Regions from separate parts of the Homo sapiens genome. Here regions 2, 3, 4, 5, 6 and 7 are each linked to region 1. The links are contacts of gene promoters, found by promoter capture Hi-C in blood cells and fetal thymus (Javierre and others, 2016). All regions are on one chromosome and are shown on one strand. Each heading gives the region's core, a stretch centred on a gene start or on the middle of the fragment in contact. The rest is flanking DNA. Distances are from core to core; before and after follow the strand shown. Region 1 holds the start of TMEM139 (transmembrane protein 139). Region 2 has its middle 34 kb from the start of PRSS2. Region 3 has its middle 27 kb from the start of EPHB6. Region 4 holds the start of TRPV6 (transient receptor potential cation channel subfamily V member 6). Region 5 overlaps TRPV5 (transient receptor potential cation channel subfamily V member 5). Region 6 holds the start of TRPV5 (transient receptor potential cation channel subfamily V member 5). Region 7 has its middle 26 kb from the start of OR9A2.

Evidence for each region. Contacts are between HindIII fragments. The CHiCAGO score rates a contact against its expected background, and 5 or more counts as called.
Region 2: a fragment that was not itself captured here is called in contact with the fragment with the promoter of TMEM139 in region 1 in 1 of 17 cell types (activated CD4 T cells); the score reaches 7.0 in activated CD4 T cells.
Region 3: a fragment that was not itself captured here is called in contact with the fragment with the promoter of TMEM139 in region 1 in 3 of 17 cell types (naive CD8 T cells, total CD4 T cells and non-activated CD4 T cells); the score reaches 5.9 in naive CD8 T cells.
Region 4: a contact is called between the fragment with the promoter of TRPV6 here and the fragment with the promoter of TMEM139 in region 1, in 1 of 17 cell types (neutrophils). The highest score is 5.2, in neutrophils.
Region 5: a fragment that was not itself captured here is called in contact with the fragment with the promoter of TMEM139 in region 1 in 1 of 17 cell types (neutrophils); the score reaches 6.4 in neutrophils.
Region 6: a fragment that was not itself captured here is called in contact with the fragment with the promoter of TMEM139 in region 1 in 1 of 17 cell types (neutrophils); the score reaches 5.3 in neutrophils.
Region 7: a fragment that was not itself captured here is called in contact with the fragment with the promoter of TMEM139 in region 1 in 1 of 17 cell types (neutrophils); the score reaches 5.4 in neutrophils.

Annotation. Positions count from the first base shown.
Region 1 is chr7:143,283,420-143,286,207 of GRCh38, reverse strand. It overlaps TMEM139 (transmembrane protein 139), which reads right to left and starts at 1,250. Exons shown (of 3, transcript NM_001282876.2): 1 at 763-1,250; 2 at 6-267. The coding sequence starts at 250. TMEM139-AS1 (TMEM139 antisense RNA 1) reads left to right here. Exons shown (of 3, transcript NR_133932.1): 1 at 1-231; 2 at 370-490. RefSeq lists an enhancer at 25-1,224. The HindIII fragment of the contact is 11,639 bases long and covers 1-2,788 here.
Region 2 is chr7:142,803,273-142,806,060 of GRCh38, reverse strand. It overlaps TRB. Among named protein-coding and RNA genes, the nearest start is that of PRSS2, 34 kb to the right of the region's middle. RefSeq lists a cis regulatory region at 957-1,358. The HindIII fragment of the contact is 5,985 bases long and covers 1-2,788 here.
Region 3 is chr7:142,826,891-142,829,678 of GRCh38, reverse strand. No RefSeq gene overlaps it. Among named protein-coding and RNA genes, the nearest start is that of EPHB6, 27 kb to the left of the region's middle. The HindIII fragment of the contact is 944 bases long and covers 917-1,860 here.
Region 4 is chr7:142,884,316-142,887,103 of GRCh38, reverse strand. It overlaps TRPV6 (transient receptor potential cation channel subfamily V member 6), which reads left to right and starts at 1,359. Exons shown (of 15, transcript NM_018646.6): 1 at 1,359-1,715. The coding sequence starts at 1,468. The HindIII fragment of the contact is 18,692 bases long and covers 1-2,788 here.
Region 5 is chr7:142,906,477-142,909,264 of GRCh38, reverse strand. It overlaps TRPV5 (transient receptor potential cation channel subfamily V member 5), which reads left to right. Exons shown (of 15, transcript NM_019841.7): 15 at 457-1,164. The coding sequence ends at 751. Among named protein-coding and RNA genes, the nearest start is that of TRPV6, 22 kb to the right of the region's middle. The HindIII fragment of the contact is 4,444 bases long and covers 1-2,788 here.
Region 6 is chr7:142,931,230-142,934,017 of GRCh38, reverse strand. TRPV5 (transient receptor potential cation channel subfamily V member 5) reads left to right here and starts at 272. Exons shown (of 15, transcript NM_019841.7): 1 at 272-686. The coding sequence starts at 559. The HindIII fragment of the contact is 1,328 bases long and covers 666-1,993 here.
Region 7 is chr7:142,999,413-143,002,200 of GRCh38, reverse strand. No RefSeq gene overlaps it. Among named protein-coding and RNA genes, the nearest start is that of OR9A2, 26 kb to the left of the region's middle. The HindIII fragment of the contact is 1,734 bases long and covers 458-2,191 here.

The DNA of each region.
Region 1 (2,788 bases), core at 1-2,500:
CTCACCGTGCATTGCCTGAGGGCCCTGGGCTCTCAGTCTGCATTGATTGGAGCTGGGACCGAAGCCCCCATTCCAGAAACCGGACCAGGAGATAGGCAAACAAGAAGAAGCCACCCAATGTGAGAAAGAAATAAGCAACGGGGGTGATGTCCGTCTTTATGCCCAGCAAAGCCAGCCCCAGTAGGAAGGAGGCGCAGCACAGGAGGAGAAGCGGCTTCTCCAGTCTCCCCAGTAAGTGCATTGGCACCATGGCCCCTCCCCAGGCTCCTGCAAAAAGACACACAGCTATTGTGTCTACACTAGCAATTGGTGTCATGGCTGTGTCAGATACCAAAGTAACCATATGATATTTCTTTGTTTGGTTTCTAGGTTCTTCAATCTCAAATAAATCATCTGTAGAGTCCCCTCCAGTTCCGAAATTCTCTCTATGTCTTGGAGTGTGTGGAATAGCCAGGAAACCAGCCCAGGAGCTTTGACTCCCAGCCATTCTGTAAGTTGACTGTGTCATGGCTCTGCCTTCTTTCCTTTCTCCTTCCCTGTAGTCTCCCTTCCAGCTTTGTCCCTTACCACCATCCAGGATCCGGTCCTGGGCACGCCCTGCCTGGGGCTTCAGTGCACACTGGCATCTCTGGAATTCAGGTGATGGGGCAGGCCCTGCCCTTCCTCTGTTATTGCTCCTACTGGATCTCCACCCCCACCTCCCCAGCCAGAGGCCCTCAATCCAGCCCCGTTAGAGAGAAGAGGGGAGGGAGCCCCACTTACCCTGTCTGACTCTGTCTTTTCCTTTCCTCCGGTGTTAGCCCATGCTCCAGGTGGAGGGAGAAAGTGCACACAGGCGCACCAAAGCCACAGGGACACAACTGCTTGAGAAACAATTGTACAGGCAAAGGCCCAGCACAATGGCCGGAGGCCCTGATAACTCCTGTCCTCTTCTAGACCCCACATCTGCCAGGGCCCTCCTCTACCCTCTGCTGATCCTAACTTGTTAAACTCAGTTTGCAAATTTCCTGCCAGGAGGTAGCCCAGTGGCTGGGAGGCGGTGGGCAGGGGAACTCTTTTCTTTCCTTGTAACAGCAACAACCCGAGGCAGCCCATACCCCAGAAACAGCCTGTCAGAAGTTGCCAGCGCTCTGTGTAGCAAGGAATTGCAGATTCCCTCCTCACACCTCGGTCCCAATCCCATGACCCTCCCGACCCTCGCACCCACACCTGTCTCAGAAGTTCGTCGCTCACCTGTCTCCACAGACTGTAGAAAGTAGATGGGGTGGGGGGTGGTGGGAAGGGCCGGAGCGGGTAGGTGGAGCCCACTGGCCCCACCCTCTTTTTCTGTCCCAATCCCTGTTCTGGCCCAGTCAGTCTCCGCCCCTTTTCTCCCTAAGGCTGACTTCCAACTGCTGAACCTTGATTTGTTCTGGTTTTTACTCTCTCCACCCACCCATGCTGTACCCTAATGAGAGTGCACCCCTGACTCCCAATGATCTTTGTACTTAGGACCGGAGTTAGCATTAACCTTTCCCTCTCGGCGCATATTGTATGTTAATTACAGCCCTGGGCAGTTTGCCTTCTATTTGGGTAATTTACCTTGTGCGTCTCTCCCAAGTGACTGGAAGCGGAGACCTCGGCTTATTTAATCTCTGTAGATCATCACACAGTGCACTGCACACAGAAAGTAATGCTGTGGGCATGGAATGGTGTGTCCTGCTTCCATTACCCAAGTGCTATTTTTATGGACTCCCTGTATTCTGCAGACCTGTCAGAAGTGTTAGTGTGTATATTTCTTGACCCAGTTAACTCTTGAGTCTTCAAGATCCTCCTCCGAGGTGATGCTGCTTTGGAGCCTGCTCCAGTGTATCCACATCGTTCCTTCCTAAATTTGTCCCAGCATTTACCTGGTTATGTAGCATTTTTCTGCTTACTGATTTTCCTTCCACTGTGAGTTTCTCAAGGTGCGTGATTAGTTTTAATCATCTCTGAATCCTGGAAACTAACATGGTTCCTGAAACGTGGTAGGTCACTAACTAGAAGGCTCCCCTCTCACCAGGCCTCACCACACCTGTGAAGATCAAAGAGCTGTTCTTTTTAGTTGTGGGTCAGGCAGTTAAGTCGGAGTAGGGTAGGTGCTTGGAGGTAGAGAGTGAGTAGAAGCATACTTGGTCCTTGAGCCAGAGGGTGAACAAAACTGGGCCCCGTTCCTTCAGAGGGTGACCAGCAGACAGACCGAGGGAAGCTGCAGACCGTGGGCACAAATCCAATCCAGGCTCCCCAGGGACAGCTGGGGTGGGGAAGCATAGGAGAGGGTGTGTGTGTGTGTGTGTGTGTGAGAGAGAGAGAGAGAGAGTATGGGAATGAGAATAACTGTGTCTGTAGTGGTAATAAGTGTGGGCACTGGTGGGATATTGAAGATTCTCTGTCCCAGAGCCCCAGATCGATAGCAGAGAGAGGAAGGAGACATTAACAGGAAGGCTGTGGGAGTCTAAATGAGGTGTGTCTCTATGCAAAGTAGGCACAGGAGTGAGGGGGGCTGATTGTTGTTCTGTTTCAGCCAATTTCCTCACTGTTCTGCTCATAAGGGGAAAGTACAGCTGGAATCAGGACTGCAGTCTACAGTTAACATATGAATAGAAGGAAATTGGCCAAGGGTCATTGGTGTGTGTGATAGGAAAGGGGGTTTGTTAAGGAGTGAGTTGTGGGAATGGGAAGGTGTAGGCTAAGAGGCACGGGGCCAAAAGGTATGGGCCTGAGGTGTAAGGGGAGAGTCTGGGAGAGGCGGACCTTTGTAGCTTAAGTC
Region 2 (2,788 bases), core at 151-2,650, 480 kb after region 1:
TCCCGACCATCCCCACTCCCCAACCTTATGTGGCCCAGCAATGAGCCTAGTAGTAGGAAAATCTCTATGGATACTGGTGCTGATGGGAAGATTCTTCCTCTCAGGAAGTGATGGTGACTGGGGCTCTGGGATGCTCACGGGAATCCCATTTCCCCCACAAAGAAGTTATTTTATTACACAACCATTTGGATGACCCCCTTTTTCTTCCAATTTCCCAAATAAATCTGTAAAGGTCACAGGTGAAGTTCTTCTCTTTAAGAGCTACTCCATGCTAAGTTCAGCGAGAACTTGGGGTACCCTAGACATTCTTCCAGAGATGCTTTTCTTGTAACTCTTTTCAATAAGTAAGCATGCTTTGCTCTGCACTGGGTGTCACCTGTGTTGGATGCTGTTGTCCCTGCCTTGCCCTATATTCTGTCCACATGGTTTCTTCATAGGATGATGCTTAGGTCAGCCCTGAGGTTTGAACCAGTCAACAAGTCCAGGTTGGTGTGGAGTCCCTTTAGTACCTCCCTTTGCAGGAATAATGCTGCACCCAGAAACTCCCTCAGAGCCTCTCCACTGGAGGGGCCTTGTGACCATTCCTGGTTTACTCCTCTTGTTCCAGCATCCCATGTGGCCAATGGGCCCCTTTCATTTTCAATGGTATCTCAATTCTTACAGTAAGTTATATTATTGCCCTACATCGAACTCATCTTTTCTCAGTGTTACCTGAGGAAGAATGGAGAGGATGCCCAGAATTGGCCCAGAAGAATCCACTTCGATTCTAGAGAAAAAGGCAGGTAGAGGCAGAAGAGATTCACTTCCCAGTGCATGCGTGCTGAATGTTGGGGGTGTTGTTTGAGAGAGACAAGGAAATGGCTGTAAAAACTTGGGAAGAGGAACCTGCCCTGGGTCAAGTAGGGTGTTGGGAGGACCAGATGGAGCTTGAAGCTCTCTCCATCTCTGTCAAGTCCCCTGGACTGAGAGGGTAAAATTCACATGGCCTTTTATCCTCCAGAGGAGAATTCATTCACCTGGGTCTGATTGCAAACTCTAGGGTACTAACAAGAAACTCCTCCCACATCCTCCCACCTGCTAATGCCTCCGTTTTCCACGTCCCCAAGATGATGGCCATCAAACTAACAGACACTATCTTTCTTCTACAAGGTGTTTCCCCCTTCCCACCTCCACTCTAATCTTGCACTACAGCTGCTCAGCCCCTCACAGCTCTGCCCACACAAACCACTATCCTCCAATATCCCCAGTCCTAGCCTGCGCCCTCTGGCCCCCACAGTTCTGCTCTCTCTGAAGTGCTTCCTTGTTCCCTCGGCTGCTCATCCTCCTGTCCTACCTTTGCGAGGAGCCACAAGGATATGCCTGCTGCCTCCACGCAGGTCTAAGGAGTGGGAAGCATGAATGTTGGTCTAGGGCCTAAAGCCTGTCCCCTTTGTTTTAGGCTTTTTTTTAGCCAATATAAAAACAAACCAGCACATATGTAACAACAATAGCCAACAAAATACTATACTGCATTTTGAGCAGTCTAGAGATAGTTACGACTGATGGAAATGACCGGCATGTGATGAGTTTCCTGGGCCCCATCCCTGCTGTGAGCACATCCTTTCCTGGTCTTTGCAAGCTGCCACCAGAGAACCCTCTTCTCCAGTTCCAAGATCCCCAGTGTAGTGGGAAGAAGAGTGTTCCCCCAGAATTCATGCCCACTCAGAAACTCAGAATGTGACCTTATTTGGAAATAGGGACTTGGCAGGTATAATTTGTTAAGATCTCTCAATAAAATTGTTCTGGATTTAGGGTGGGCCCTAAATCCTAAGACCATGCCTTGAAAAGAGAAAGGAGAGGGGAGCTTAAATGCAGAGACACAGGGAAAATGCCATGTGAAGACAGAGGCAGAGATTGCTGCGATGCTGGCACAAGCCAAGGAGTGCCAGAAGCCATCAGACATGGGAAGAAGCAGGAAAGGATTCTCCCCTAGAGCTGTCATACAGGATGACCCGCTGACATCTTGGTGTTGTATCTTTAGCCTCCAGAACTGTGAGAGAATAAGTTTTTATTGTTTTAAACCCACCAGTGGTACTTTGTTACGGCAGCCGTGGGAAACAAAGACACCAAGGCATTAAGGTGTCTTCAGTGTGTTACCATGGGCCCTGCCTGGAGTTTGGGAGAAGCTGCTCTAGGATCACCCAGATACCAGGAGCAATCCCACCATCCTGGTAACTACTTGGAAAAAGTTTCCAGAATTGCCATCTTCAGCAGAACATGCCACGGTTTCACAACTCATAAGTAATTTGAACTGTAATCTTCAGTTTCCACATCTATAACATGGGGAAAATAATACCTGTTCCTGGGATCATTGTGCAGATGCAGACAGCACAGGTAGCAGCGTCCAGCCTGAGGCCTGAAGCAAGCAGGCTCTCAACAAAGGGCTCCCTCCTCTTTCCCAACCTTTCTCTGCTTTCAGACTTCTCTTCTCTCCCCTGACAGTCTTCCTCAACTAACTTCGACATGGCCTCTCTCAGCCCCTCTCACTGTTCTAGGCCTCCTTTTCTTTAATCCCATTCCTCCTCTTCCTCCATGTAGTGTTTTACCACAATGCATTCAGCCTGTATGCAGAATTTACCTTGACAGGATAACTGTCTTTGCCCAAGTAGGAGCAGTTAACACCTTGTGTTTGGAGTGGTTTGGTTTCCATCCATCAAACGAAGAAGCCCATTGGAAGGGCTACTCTGAACATAGCACTTCAGCCCCCACTGGGCCCTATATCCCATTGCTCCTGACTTAGTGTGTCTCG
Region 3 (2,788 bases), core at 139-2,638, 460 kb after region 1:
CTCACGGGTTCAAGCAATTCTCCTGCCTCAGCCTCCCGAGTAGCTGGGACGACAGGCACGTGCCACAATGCCCAGCTAATGTTTGTGTTTTTTTTTTAATAGAGACGGGGTTTCACCATGTTGGCCAGGATCGTCTCGATCTCTTGACCTTGTGATCCACCCGCCTTGGCCTCCTAAAATGCTGGGATTACAGGCGTGAGCCCCTGCGCCCGGCCATGTGGAGTTTCAATAAACACTGCCAAATTACCCTCCATAAAGACTGTTGCAGTTTACTTTCCAGCTGTGCATGAGAGCATGTTATTTCCCTACATGCTTGCCAACATCAGATACTATTGATTCTTTTAATTATGCCAATCTGATGGGTGAAATGGTGGGTTTTTAAAAACATTACATTCAACCGATCATTAGATCTAGCCTCTTTCTGTATGTATGTTGGCCTTCCTCAGTGCAGGTCTATCTTTTACGCATTTTCTCTTCTTTTCCTATTTCAGAGGAAAAAAGTTCCCCCTTCTTGATGTCCAATAATTAATCCACATGCCTCTTTGTTTCTCAAATATCTTCTTTCTTTAGCATCTTCAATTTTCCTGTCTTTATGTAGTTCTTCCTCTTGGCTTTCTATATAATCAGACTATAAATACGTTGGAATAAAAGACTGTATTCAACTCTACCATTCCCTTTAACCTCTCCCTTACTCGCTCTGCCCCTAAACTTGTCAAATGAGTGCTCTGAATCTGCTACTTTCTCCTCCTCTAGTCAACAACATCGGTGAAGTCATTCAGTCCTAATTTTACTGAATTTTTAAAGTTCTTTTAAATCCTGCTGCCACCTCTTTGTACCCACAGTCTCCTCTGAACTTCCAAGATACCATCCCATTTCTTGTCTTCCCTCTAGAACTACTTTCTTAATTTCTTAAGCTTACTTTTCCCCTCCTTTTACCTATAAGTGTGGATGTTCAACAGTTTTTATTTTTGGACCTTTGTTCCTTTTTCTTCACTTGTTGCTTTGGAGATCTCATCCATTCCAAACATTTCAACTATTTTCTCTCTGCGGATGACCCCTGAAGTCAGTATTTCTAGTCCTGGTGTCTCATTAAAAATCCAAATTTTCACTTGCACTTTTCTGATTGAATTGGACTCAATGTGACTTCAAGGTCAGAATGACAAATGACATTTAGTATCTTCCTCTCTCTCAAACTGAATTCTGTGATTTTATCAACTTTTTTTTTTTTTGTATGTAATGAGAAACAGAACATCTTACTTTCCAAGTAGTGAATTCTCCCTGGATAGAGACTAATTTTGTCTACTGAATACTTTGATGAGTCACTTTTGATGTAGGGGAATAGGTGAGAGGGCAACCTCAGGAAGGACTGAGCTTGTAGAGAAAGAGGTGGCTATGCAACTGCTTTCCAAGTGGTGCTGAGCTGCTGTTACACTTTTGTTTTGCTGGATACACTTTCAAGAGCTGAATTGTCTGGGGCTATAATGAGGATGGCAGTGGCTGTGGAAAGAAAGAGGAGGAAAAAGGTAGCTGGCAACCAGAATGGAAATTTGGCAAAAGAACAGACACGTTTAAGAGGGATTTTATGAGGCTCTGCCCTGCTCCACTGCATGCATGATATACTTGCTTACTTATCTCTCTGGAAAATCTTCAGCACAAAACCTTTTCTTACTGATTGATTGTGATTAATTGCAGTTAATTAGTTAAAATGTGGCATTAATTATTGACATTCTCTTGCTTAAATTTTCTCAGTGGTTTTCTGTTGTCCTAACACTGTATCAAAAATAATTCTTTCTTTTACAGCTTTATTAAAATGCACTTGACAAACAATAGACATCTTTAAAATGTACAATTTGGTAAGCTTTGACATACGCAAACACCTGGGAAACCATCATAAAACTTAATGTAATGAACTTACACATCACCTCCAAAAGTTTTGCTGTGGCCCGCTATTTATTTATTTATTTAAATTTCAACTTTTATTTTAGATACAGGGAGAACATGTGCAGATTTGTTACATGGGAATATTGCCTAATACTGAGGTTTGTACTGAGGTTTGAAGTACAGATCTTGTCACCCAGGTACAGAAGATAGTGCCTGATAGGTAGTTTTTCAAAACACTTCCCCTTGTCTCTCTCCCCCTTCTGGTAGTTCACAATGTCTATTGTTCCATTGTTTATATCCATGTATGCTCAATGTTTAGTTCCCACTTTTAAGTGATAACATGCGATATTTGGTTTTCCGTTCCTGGATTAATTTGCTTAGGATTATGGCCTCCAACTGCATCCATTTTGCTGCAAAGAACATAATTTCATTCTTTTTTTATGGCTGCGTACCATTCCATGGTGTATATGTACCACATTTTCTTGATCCAATCTACCATTGATGGGCACCTGGTTTGATTCCATGTCTTTGCTATTGTGAATAGCCTTGTGGCTTTTTATAATTCCATCCTTCTCTCCATGCTGTTCCCAGACAAACACTGATAGAGTGCTTCTTCTATTACTATAGATTTCTTTGTGTTTTCTAGAATTTAATATAATGCAATTATAAACTATGTACTCTTTTTTGTTTCTTTACTTTTATTCATCATATTATTTTGAGATTTATCTATGTTGTTTTAAATTTAAATAGTTCATTCTTTTTATTGCTAATTTTCCTTTGTGTGGATACATGACAATTTCAGCATTAGTTCGCCCATTAATAGGCAATTGGATTTTTTCCAAATTTTGACTATTACAAATAAAATTGTTATGAAAATTTGTGTCTTTGTGTGGACCTGTGCCTTTCT
Region 4 (2,788 bases), core at 110-2,609, 400 kb after region 1:
CCAGACACCTGCCCCTAGGCTATTGGCACCTGGCTGGCACCAGGAGGTTGGATAAGCCCGGGCTTCTGCCCCTTTCCAGTGGAAAAGTTGAACTAAATGACCTTTCCGACAGCTTCCAGCAAGCTCATGATGGAGCTCTTTGTTGTGGGAAGACGATGGGCCATGCTTAATGCCATCATTCTTCTGTATGACTGTGCGAGTCACTTAACCTCTCTGAAGCTCTGTTGGCCAGTTAGAATGAGGAGGTGTGCTAGGGAGAAAGAAGTGGGCTTGGAATGAGGGATGGGTGTGAATCTTGCCTCTGCCACCTCTATGGCCTTGGGAGAGTTCCTTTACCATGGTGAGCTTTGGTTTCTCCCATCAATACAATGTAGATAATAATACCTGCCTTGCAGGTTTGTTACGAGTTTACCTGGGAACGCTCAGTTAAAAGGCCCAGCACACAGTAGCAGCTGAATGTCACCTCCACGGGAAGGCTGGCAGATAGAATACTTGCAAAACGTGGGGTATATTTATACTAAAAAATTCTTTGTTGTTTATCTAAAATTCAAATTTGACCACGTGTCCTGTATTTTATCGGGCACCCACCCCATGCACGGGGCATTGTGGACAGTCTGTGGAGCTCCTGAGCAGGGGGTCTGCCCAGAGCTAGATTTTGTGCCCTGGCTGGTGAGCGAAGAATGCATTTTACATCTTTGGGGGTGGTTAGAAAACAACCACCAAAACAAAACCAAAGAATAACGTACATTAGAGAGTGTACATGGCTTGCAAAACCTAACATCTTTACATTTCCTATCAGCCCTTCCAGAAAAAGTTTGCTGACCCAAAGGTGATGGGGACTGAGAGGAAAGTCTGGGAGAACTGAGTATCTTCGCAATTTATATACCTATTTCAGGCCTGGCAAGAATGAAACTGGAAGAGTCCAGAAAATGGAATTCTCCAGGACATAAGCAGGGGGAGGCAGAGAGTGAGGCAGGTGGTCGGCAGAAGAGGCACTGTGGGAAAGTGGGGCGCTCCCTCCTGGGAGTCCTCAACATTGGGAATGGGCCTGCCCTGACTCCTCCCCTCCTTTCTCACTGCCTAGAGTCTCTCAGGGTAGGTCACTGGGTGTTCTGACGTCCAAGGGAGGCCTCGCCAGTCTTTCTGAAGGCCTCCCTGGTTGTGACTGGCCTGGGGGCAGGGAGAGAGCCCTGGGTGGAGAAAGAATTGGAGTTGGCACAAGTCCCCCTTGGTAGGCAGGTCTGTGGCTGGCCTGTGTCTTTAAATCTCAGGTAATTTGGGAGGAGGGAGGGCGTGTCCGTGCAGCTTTGGCTCCTCCTGCTCACTCCCAGCAGGAGCTCCAGACAGGCCAGCCCTGCAGAGTCCTGGCTGGCTCTGCCAAGTGTAACAAACTCACAGCCCTCTCCAAACTGGCTGGGGCTGCTGGGAGACTCCCAAGGAACTCGTCAGGAAGGCAGGAGACAGGAGACGGGACCTCTACAGGGAGACGGTGGGCCGGCCCTTGGGGGGGCTGATGTGGCCCCAAGGCTGAGTCCCGTCAGGGTCTGGCCTCGGCCTCAGGCCCCCAAGGAGCCGGCCCTACACCCCATGGGTTTGTCACTGCCCAAGGAGAAAGGGCTAATTCTCTGCCTATGGAGCAAGTTCTGCAGATGGTTCCAGAGACGGGAGTCCTGGGCCCAGAGCCGAGATGAGCAGAACCTGCTGCAGCAGAAGAGGTAAGGCCCCCTTGGTCTGCTCCCTTCCCCACCTCCCCAGGCCTGCACCTCTACCCCTCACCCCTCCCTCACCTCCCGTCTTTGTTTGGCACCTTTGGCTGGACAGATGGTGCTCCCAGGCCCGGACTGGCTCCTTGGGAGCATTCTGTCTTAAGAGCCTCAGCCTGTAGGGCTGGTGAAAGAGGATGGGGTTGAGATGGGCACAGGTGTTCACTATCTTAAGATCTAATTCGATTCTGCAAGCCTCTTGTGAGTACTTCTCTAAGGGCCAGGCGTCTTGCTGGGGCTTGTAAGGATAGAGCATCACAGCCCCTCCACCCAAGAGGGGACGGCAGGTGAGGACAATGCCTTCTGTATCTCCACTGCTTGCCTCTAGAACAGTCTCTCTGGCAGGAACACATAGTATACATATGTTCGCATGGAGGAATGAGTGAACGATTGAATGAATGAAGCAGAGAGAACCGCGGACACCAGGAACCAGAAAATAAGACAAAATGTGAAAAAAGTGACCATTCCTATGTATCTGTCTCATCAGACACTGACCAAGGCCTTACTATTTGCCCAGCACTGGGGGGATATGAAGACCTACAACGCTCAAACCCAACCTTGAGGTGTATTTCTCTCTCAGTGCGGGTGGGGACTGAGGGGAAGCGGGTCAAAATAACAGATGTTCCGAGGACCTGTGCTCTTCCGCATTCAGGTGGTGGAAATCGAGACTCTAGCGTTTAAGCCCTAAGGACATTCACTGGTGGCTTCCAGCCCCTGAAAACTTCCTAAACCCGTGTCCTGCTTTCTTCACCATGACAGCTTGGAGTACAGAGCAGGAGAGGAGCAGGGAATCGGAACTCAGGGCTATCCCTGCATGTGGTCTCTTCTTCAAGGTCTCTAATAGAGTTCTCTACCCAGTTGGTGGCATGCTAGAAGGAAGTCCTGCCTGTTGGGGCTTTCCCTGGGTCACGAAGGAGGCAGATGTCTGGTCATAGAGGAAAGCCTGAAGTCTTTGTGCCTTAGGGTTTTTCTCTGACCCCAAGAGTAGGAGCCTGCTTTAGCCTGACCGGGGAGGCTGCCTGGAG
Region 5 (2,788 bases), core at 97-2,596, 380 kb after region 1:
TAACCTTGTTCTGAGCTGACCTTCATCTCCAGTGTACTTTTGGCTTGGATCTAACTTCCTCCTTCATATTCTGCCCTCATCTCCCGGCGTGACTCTCCTCTCTCCTCAAATTTACTTCCTGAATTGCATCTCGTCATCCTTGTGACACGCTTATCTATTAGTTGGCTCTGTTTTCTCTTTCACATTCCTACGTATTAGTAACACACAAACACACACACACCTGTGTGCGTCCTACCACCCTGCAAGCCCTGATTGCTCAGCCTCCATTATCTCTATCCCAGGTTAGCCTGCCCTCCATCACCTCCCTTCACTTGATCCCAGATACTCTTCCTGTTTCAACTCTGCTGCCTTATTTCTGCTTCCCTCTTGACCCTGCTTTCTAAATGGTCACCTCTACTTCTCCCCTGCCCATGTCTCCCCACCTGGATTGAGTCCTTTCCCCTTTCCCCTTATCAGGGTTGAGAACCACAATGATCAGAATCCTCTGCGAGTGCTTCGCTATGTGGAAGTGTTCAAGAACTCAGACAAGGAGGATGACCAGGAGCATCCATCTGAGAAACAGCCCTCTGGGGCTGAGAGTGGGACTCTAGCCAGAGCCTCTTTGGCTCTTCCAACTTCCTCCCTGTCCCGGACCGCGTCCCAGAGCAGCAGTCACCGAGGCTGGGAGATCCTTCGTCAAAACACCCTGGGGCACTTGAATCTTGGACTGAACCTTAGTGAGGGGGATGGAGAGGAGGTCTACCATTTTTGATTAACATCGCTATCACTCTTGACCTTACTCCCGGTTGGCCTGGGGGCGGGGACAGAGACGGAGACCTCTGCCTATGCAAGTGTCTAACTTCTGTGCCTGTTAATCATGGGAGGGTGAGACAGAACAATCCCTAAAGGGTCATGCCTCACACTTCACATCAGAATTTCTGGCAATGGGCAATGGTCATCGATTGTCTCACGTATTTTCTGGGCTCTTGCAAGTCACCCATCTCAGGAAAAAGGAGGTTGGCAACTAAAGACATGAGGCAGGGATGCTAGATTAATGTCAGGACCATTTCTCTTCTGCCCCACGCAGCCCCTAGAAAGTAGTAAGCTGTGAGGCTTTTCTGGCTCCCCAGGGCTTACGTGGGAAGAGCCAGGCATGGCATAGAGGTTGTGGCCCTTCTTTTTTTCCCAGCCTCCTGTAGGTCTCTCTCTCCACTTAGCAAGCAAACACCAACTGCAATAAAAAAGTCTCCTTATTCTTGCCTTCTTTAATTTTTTACTGTGGCACAATACATGTCACATAAAATTTACCATATTATCCATTTTCAGATGTGCCATTCAGTGGCATTAAGTACATTCACATTGTTGTGTAACCATCACCATTATTCATTTATGGAACTTTTTCATCATTCGGAACTGAAACTCTAATCCCCATTGAACAATAACTCTCCAGCTATCTCTCTGCCCTGGTCCCTGATAACCAATATTCTGCTTTCTGTCTATGAATTTAACTATTCTAGGTATCTTATGTAAGTGGGATTCTGCAATCTTAGTCCAAAATTTGACACAGTTTGTTTATTTATTCATCTACCAATGGACATTTGAGTTTTTTCTACCTTTTGGCCGTTGTGAATAATGCTGCTATCAATATGGTATACAAATATCTGTTCTAGTTTCTATTTTCAGATACTTTGGGCATACACCTAAAAATGGAATTGCTAGACAATTCTTATGTTTAGTTTTATGAGGAACTGCCATACTGGTTTTCACAATAGCTTTCACCATTTTACATTCCCTTCTAATGGGTGTGAAGTGGCTTCACATTGTAGTTTTGATTTGCCTTTCCCTAATGACTAATGATACTGAGCACGTTTTTATACACCTATTTATTGGATGTTTATATACCTTCTTTGGAGAAATGTCTTTTCAGTTTATTTGTCCATTTTCGAATTAGGTTTTTGTTGTTGTTGAATTGCCTTATCTTTGCTTTTTGAGGCTCACAGTCTGAAGTGTTTGCATCCTGGTGTGTTTTTAAGAATGTATGGTAAATTAGGCCTATATTTGAATGGCCTAATCATTTCTTTTCCAGGACCCTCCTGCTCTGTCCCTAGCAGCTAATCATCCTTGTGCCTGGAGGCAACAGGCTCCTGCTTGTTCTCCTGACATAGCCATCCTCCATTCCCATCTCCCTTTGCCCCACACTGAGTTGTGAAAGGAACAGCAACAATAGAGGAAGGGTCATCCCTCTCCAGGAGGGAAATTAGGAATCATGTGTCCAGGGCACCCATTATAGGTGCTCATGGTCAGCCTCTCTTGTGTCTCCAGCACTATACTTCTAATCCCAGCCCCATCATCACCCTTAGCAAAAAGCCATGTCAGCTTTTCAAAGGACTGTGGTCTGGGATAACAAAGAAGTAAGTGGTATTTGTGAAACCACAGACAGTTAATTCAGATACACCAGCCCAGGGCTGAGTGCCCAGCAGTGAGGGATTGCACAATGTGTATACACACGCCCGCACACACTGGGACACAGTGGTGGCAGGGTATGTAAAACTGCTCAGTCACCATCATTCTTCTTTATTCTCTTCATAGTAGAAGCACTTTAAAATTCTGCTTCTGTAGTCCTTTTTTTTTTTTCTTGAGACAGGGTCTTGCTCTGTTGCCCATGCTGAAGTACAGTGGTGTGATCACTGCTTACTGCAGCTTCGACCTCCTGGGCTCAAGTAATCTTCCCCCATCAGCCTCCCAAGTAGGTGGCACTACAGGTGTGCACCACCACACCCAGCTAATTTTTGTATTTTTTTTAGAGATG
Region 6 (2,788 bases), core at 80-2,579, 350 kb after region 1:
ACTCTTGAGCTGGAAGTCTTTATTTCCTCCTCTCCCTCATGCAACTAACTGTGCACCTTGTTTGTGGACCCACCTTCCATCCCTTTTCTTTTTCCAAATTCCTCTGCCCCACCTCTTAGCTTCTCGGGTCTCAGCCATCCCAGCCCACAGTTAGGAACCTTCCTTCCCCTCCTCCTTTTCTTCCCCAGGGTGGTTCTGTGGCTGTGGGGCTCAGCTCTGCAAAGAGCTCCTCCCCCTCCAGGAAAAGCACTTCTCCCCAGGCAGGGCGGTCAGTCCCCTCAGCGCACCTGCATGCACACACACCACCTCACAACCACACACTGCATGCACACACATACACCACAGCCACACACTGTGCATACACGCACACCCCACAACCCACATACTGCATGCACACACACACACCTACAAGCTGCATGCTGCATACACAAGTCATACAGGAGATAAACTCAGAGTCCCAGCCCCAAATAGACCCCATCTCTTGCTCAGTTGCTGTCATCCTAGACCTGTTTCTTTCGCCACATTTCTATAATCTGCCAGTGTCTGCAAGGAGAAGACATGGGGGGTTTTCTACCTAAGGCAGAAGGGCCCGGGAGCCAACTCCAGAAACTTCTGCCCTCCTTTCTGGTCAGAGAACAAGACTGGGACCAGCACCTGGACAAGCTTCATATGCTGCAGCAGAAGAGGTAGGCTTCCTAGAACGATCCGTGGCCCTACCGCCGTGATCCTCAGACCCTCTGACCCACCTGGGCCTGCTTTCCGAATACAGCACCCTAGAAGTGTATTGTCAGTGCCAGTCACTCAGACATACCCTTTCCTTCCAGCCCACCTAATTACAGAATCCCAGCTGGCCCCTTTTAGTGGCGGTGGAGGATGTGGCTTTGGGCCACACAGGAAAATCTTGAGGGTAGACCTAAGGACAGAGGCAGAATGACAGCCAAGGGGGAGTGAAAGGACCAAAAAGGACCAGAGGGAAGAAGCCAGGTTGTGTGGGATGGGGAGGGAAGGCAGAAGCAGGCTGCTGAAGAAGGGATGCACTCCTGTGGGTGGTGGAAGCACGATAAGGAAACGCCATTCATTTGAATGAAAGTGGACTGTGTGGGAAAGGGGAGGAGCGCTTTGTTTGGTGTAACACTGGGTGCTGACCAGTGGAGGAGGGCAGCTCAGGTGACACTGGAGGGCTCTGAGTTCAGTCCATCTGCCTTTTATTGAGTCTACTGTGTGCAGAGGGGTGTTAGATCCCAATGACATAAAGATTGAATGAGACTTGTGCCTGCTCCTGGAGAGCTCTTAGTTCGGGCAGGGCTAGCACACCTGCAGGTAAATCATTTCATGGCTTAGCCCTGAGGTCCAGTCCCAGGAAGAGCAGCTGGGGCAGGGACGAATCCTGTGGGCTGCTTCTTCCTCCAAGTGTTTTGGGGCTTGCCTCCCACCCAACAGCTGCCTGAGGGGTGAGGTTGTTGAGCAGACATTAGCAGTCACAAAGGGCTCCCCTGTACTCCAGAAGATTCCTGTGCTTTGTTCAATGCCCTGCTGTCCTCATCTTCAAGTTCTTAATAATTTTGAACAAGGGGTCCTGCATTTGCAGTTTACACTGGGCCTGGTCCCAAGTACCTCTGAGCCCTCATACTGTCAAGCCCTCTGCTTCCTCATCTCCCCACCCAATACCTCCAGTGGAATCTCACCTTCCTGCTTTAGAGTGGGACCCCTGGGTCTCTGAGAAAGTGAGCTTCCAGCCCCAACTTGGACCCTCTGCAGAGGGGCAGTGGGGATAGAGGGCCAGGGAGGCAAGGACTTTGTTTGTGCAGTGGCCTCAGGATGGGGGTGAATTTGCAATCTCAGCCCTGACCACTCTAGGCTGGTCAGGGACACCAGGCTCCCTGGGACTGATTCCCTGGGTGAGACGGGGCAGGGAACTGACTCCTCACAAAGGCCCCTCCTAGGAGCACTGCCTTAACAGGTAAAACCAGGCCCCACCTTTAGATTAAAAGCTTCTTCTTTAAATGAAAACACTTTGGCTGGGCGTGGTGGCTCACACCTGTAATCCCAGCACTTTGGGAGGCCGAGATGGGTGGATCACCTGAGGTCAGGAGTTCGAGAGCAGCCTGGCCAACATGCTGAAACCCCGTCTCTACCAAAAATAAAAAAACTAGTCAGGCATGGTGGTGGGCACCTGTAGTCCCAGCTACTCGGGAGGCTGAGGCAGGAGAATCACTTGAACCCAGGAGGCGGAAGTTGCAGTGAGCCGAGATCGCACCACTGCACTCCAGTCTGGGCAATAGAGTGAGACTTCGTCTCAAAAAAAATAAATAAATAAAATAAAAACACTTTTTCGCCCTGGCTCCTGGGGCTATTGGAAGAGAGGGATTTGGAGGTGGGGACCTCAGAGGAGCCACTCATCGGCCTGTCCTTTCTGTTCTTCCCCCTACACCATGTGCTTGCCTTTGGGGCCAATACACATATGTCTAGTTGGAGAGGCTCCAGCTTTATCTCTTTCTGGGTTCAAATCTGGGTATGGTAGAAGCAAAGATTAACAGAGGTCCTGTAGAATGAGTATCTCAACCTGTTTTGCCTTGAGACACCCACATAAACAAGCTGTTTAGACCTTTGCATCTAAGGGTATAATGCAGAAGAAAGAGGCACCCTGTAACTCACCCCACAACTCTCCACCCCCTGCAGGGACCTGTATCTAAATAACCTGAGGATGCTGGGCGCAATGTAATCCCAGCACTTTGGGAGGCCAAGGCAGGCGGATTGCCTGAGCTCAGGAGTTCGAGATCAGCCTGGC
Region 7 (2,788 bases), core at 75-2,574, 280 kb after region 1:
TCCATACCCCTATCTTTTTTAGGCCCTCTTTCCAGAGTTTAACAGCTGCCTGAGCTCCTGGTGAGAGGATGGACCAATCTAAAATAAATAATAACACACATACCCTTTGTCTTATGTAATGACAGATCTTCAATTTAAATTTATGTACTGCATCTCTATGTAAACTAATTAAAATTTCTGGCATGTTAGCCTATGCAATTAGACAAGAGAAAAAAAATGCAGGGCCAAGATGTTAAAAAGGAGGAGAAAAAAAGATTAACATGAATTTTAAATAATTTGTTTATCTGGAAATCTCAACAAAATAAAGTAAAAAACCAATGTGGCTGGGCACAAAATTTATATTGAGAGTCAAAAGACTTCACATATAAAACACATTAAGTTAGAAAATATAATGGAAGGAAAGAACCTCATTTACAAAAGCAAAAGCAAAGAAATATAACATTATTAGGAATAAGCTTAACAAGTAAAGATTTACATTTAAACTAGATTGACATTTAAAAAAATGCTCCTGAAAGACACAAAAGTAGATTTGAGCAAATGGAAAGGTGGAGTAAACAATACAAAGATATCAATTCTCCTCTAAGTGTATCCATAAAAATGATACAATCACAATTTAAAAATCAATAGTATTTTTTAAATCTAGAGAAGCAGATTACATTTTATTCATGCATTATTTCATTCATTTATATTTTTAGAGACAGAGTCTTGCTCTGTCAGCCAGGCTGGAGTGTAGTGGCATGATCATAGCTCACTACAGACTTGAACTGCTGGACTCAAGTGATCCTCCCACCTCAGCCGCCTGAATAGCTGGGATTACACATGTGAGCCATCGTGCCCAGCTTAGATTAAACTTTTTATTATGGAAAAATAAACAAGCAAAAAATTTTCAAAAACATTCTGAAATAGAAGCATAATGAGGAATAACTACATCTGTAAAACAGACTATATAGCTATAATGTAAACAGTACTATCATTGGGAAAAAATGAATTATTCAATAAATGGTCAAACAAACTAGCAGCTACCTAAAAAACAAAAGTTAATTCCATTACTGCCTATGTCATACCAGGCTGTTTAAAATGGGTCAAATATTTAAATGTAAAAAAAAAACATAGATTTAACATAAGAAATAAAAGAATGTTTATAAAAATGGGTAAGACCTTTCTTAGGATGACTTAAAACACAGATGTCATAGAAGATTGACTTTATGAAGAATTTTTTAAAAATTTGCTATGGTTAATACTACCCCAAGGTAAACAGACACACGAAAACACCAGAAAACAATTTCAACTCATATCACAAAAGGTTAGTTTGCATCATGTGTAAAAAGCTCCTATAAGAAAAAAATAAAACTACTCAGCAGAAAAATGGGCAAAAGATAAGCACATGTGAGAATATTTTCATCTTCATTCATAAGGAGAACAATAAAAATTAAAGCCATATTAAGATACTATTTTCAGTTATTAAACTGGCAAATGTCAAAAAGTTTTATAGTACACTGCGTGAAAATAGGTAGTGTAAAATGTAATAGCCTGCATGAAGGGCAATTATGTAATATATATTAAAGTGACAAATGCTTTTACGCTTTGGCCTAGCAATTCCTCTTCTAGAAATTGTCATTTAGATATTGTGTACAGGGAAATAATGTATGTATTCCATTTGGTGGAATAATCTGGAGTTATTAAAAAAGGAAACAAGAACCAAGAATGTCTTATGTATAAATATACAATGATCTGTACTGCATAGGACATATGTTCGATATACTACCATTTGTACAAAAAGAAAATGTGCTTGTATGCATTTGCTTATGCAGACGTATATGCTTAAAATTACCTCTGTAAAGACACAGAAGAAAGTGATAACATTGGTTGCCTTGAGGGAGGAGGATCAGATAGAAAAGTGTTTCAAAGTATCCTTTAAAATTTTGAACCATGGAAGTATATTATGCTTTGATGCTTTAATATTTGAATATAGTTATATCTTCTTTTGATATTCTGGCACTTTTAAAAACATCTGTATTTGGGGTACTATATGATCCTGATTCTCTAAGTGTTATAATTAACATATATATCTTATTAATCCAAAACTCAACTATGTAGTCTTTCTAGAACATAGCTAGGAATCAGAAAATAGCAAAATAAACCAGCAAGCAGACAAAATAAATGTTACAAAGTCCATGAACCACATAAAGCTTAGCCACTTTACTCACAGGAAGTCTGTTAGAGTCCCTTTTATCTGTTTGTTTATTTATTGGAAATAAGCTTGATAAAATGATTTACTCATAGAAAGGAGATAAGAAAAGACAGGTCTACTGAAAACAACAAGCAGTGTGTTAGCTCTCAATCAAGAGACATGTTGAGAGAAATTAAAAACCAACTGTACAAAGCTGACCAAAGGACTTAAGACATTTTTGTTCATTTAGTGCAGGAGCAAACCTTCTCTGAGATCATGTATATATGACAGTGGCATCCTAATGATCGTCTTGAGAAACCAAGAAGACATTCAGGTATGCTCAATAGAATCTATTAAGACTGATTTTCATGCCTAACATTTAAATAAAATATAAAAACTTTTGATGATTAAGTCTAAAACTTAGAGTCTCTGGAAAATGGAATAACACATTTCAGGTTGGTGGTGTTTTGGAGTATATTTTTAAATGCTTAACTGAAGATATCACCAAATGCCAGAGTAATTGGTCAGAGATTTCTTTTTCTATTGAACACAAATGAAAACATCAGTATCAAAAATTGGCAGTAGATATGCAAAAAGGGAGTCAGGAAAATTATTCTT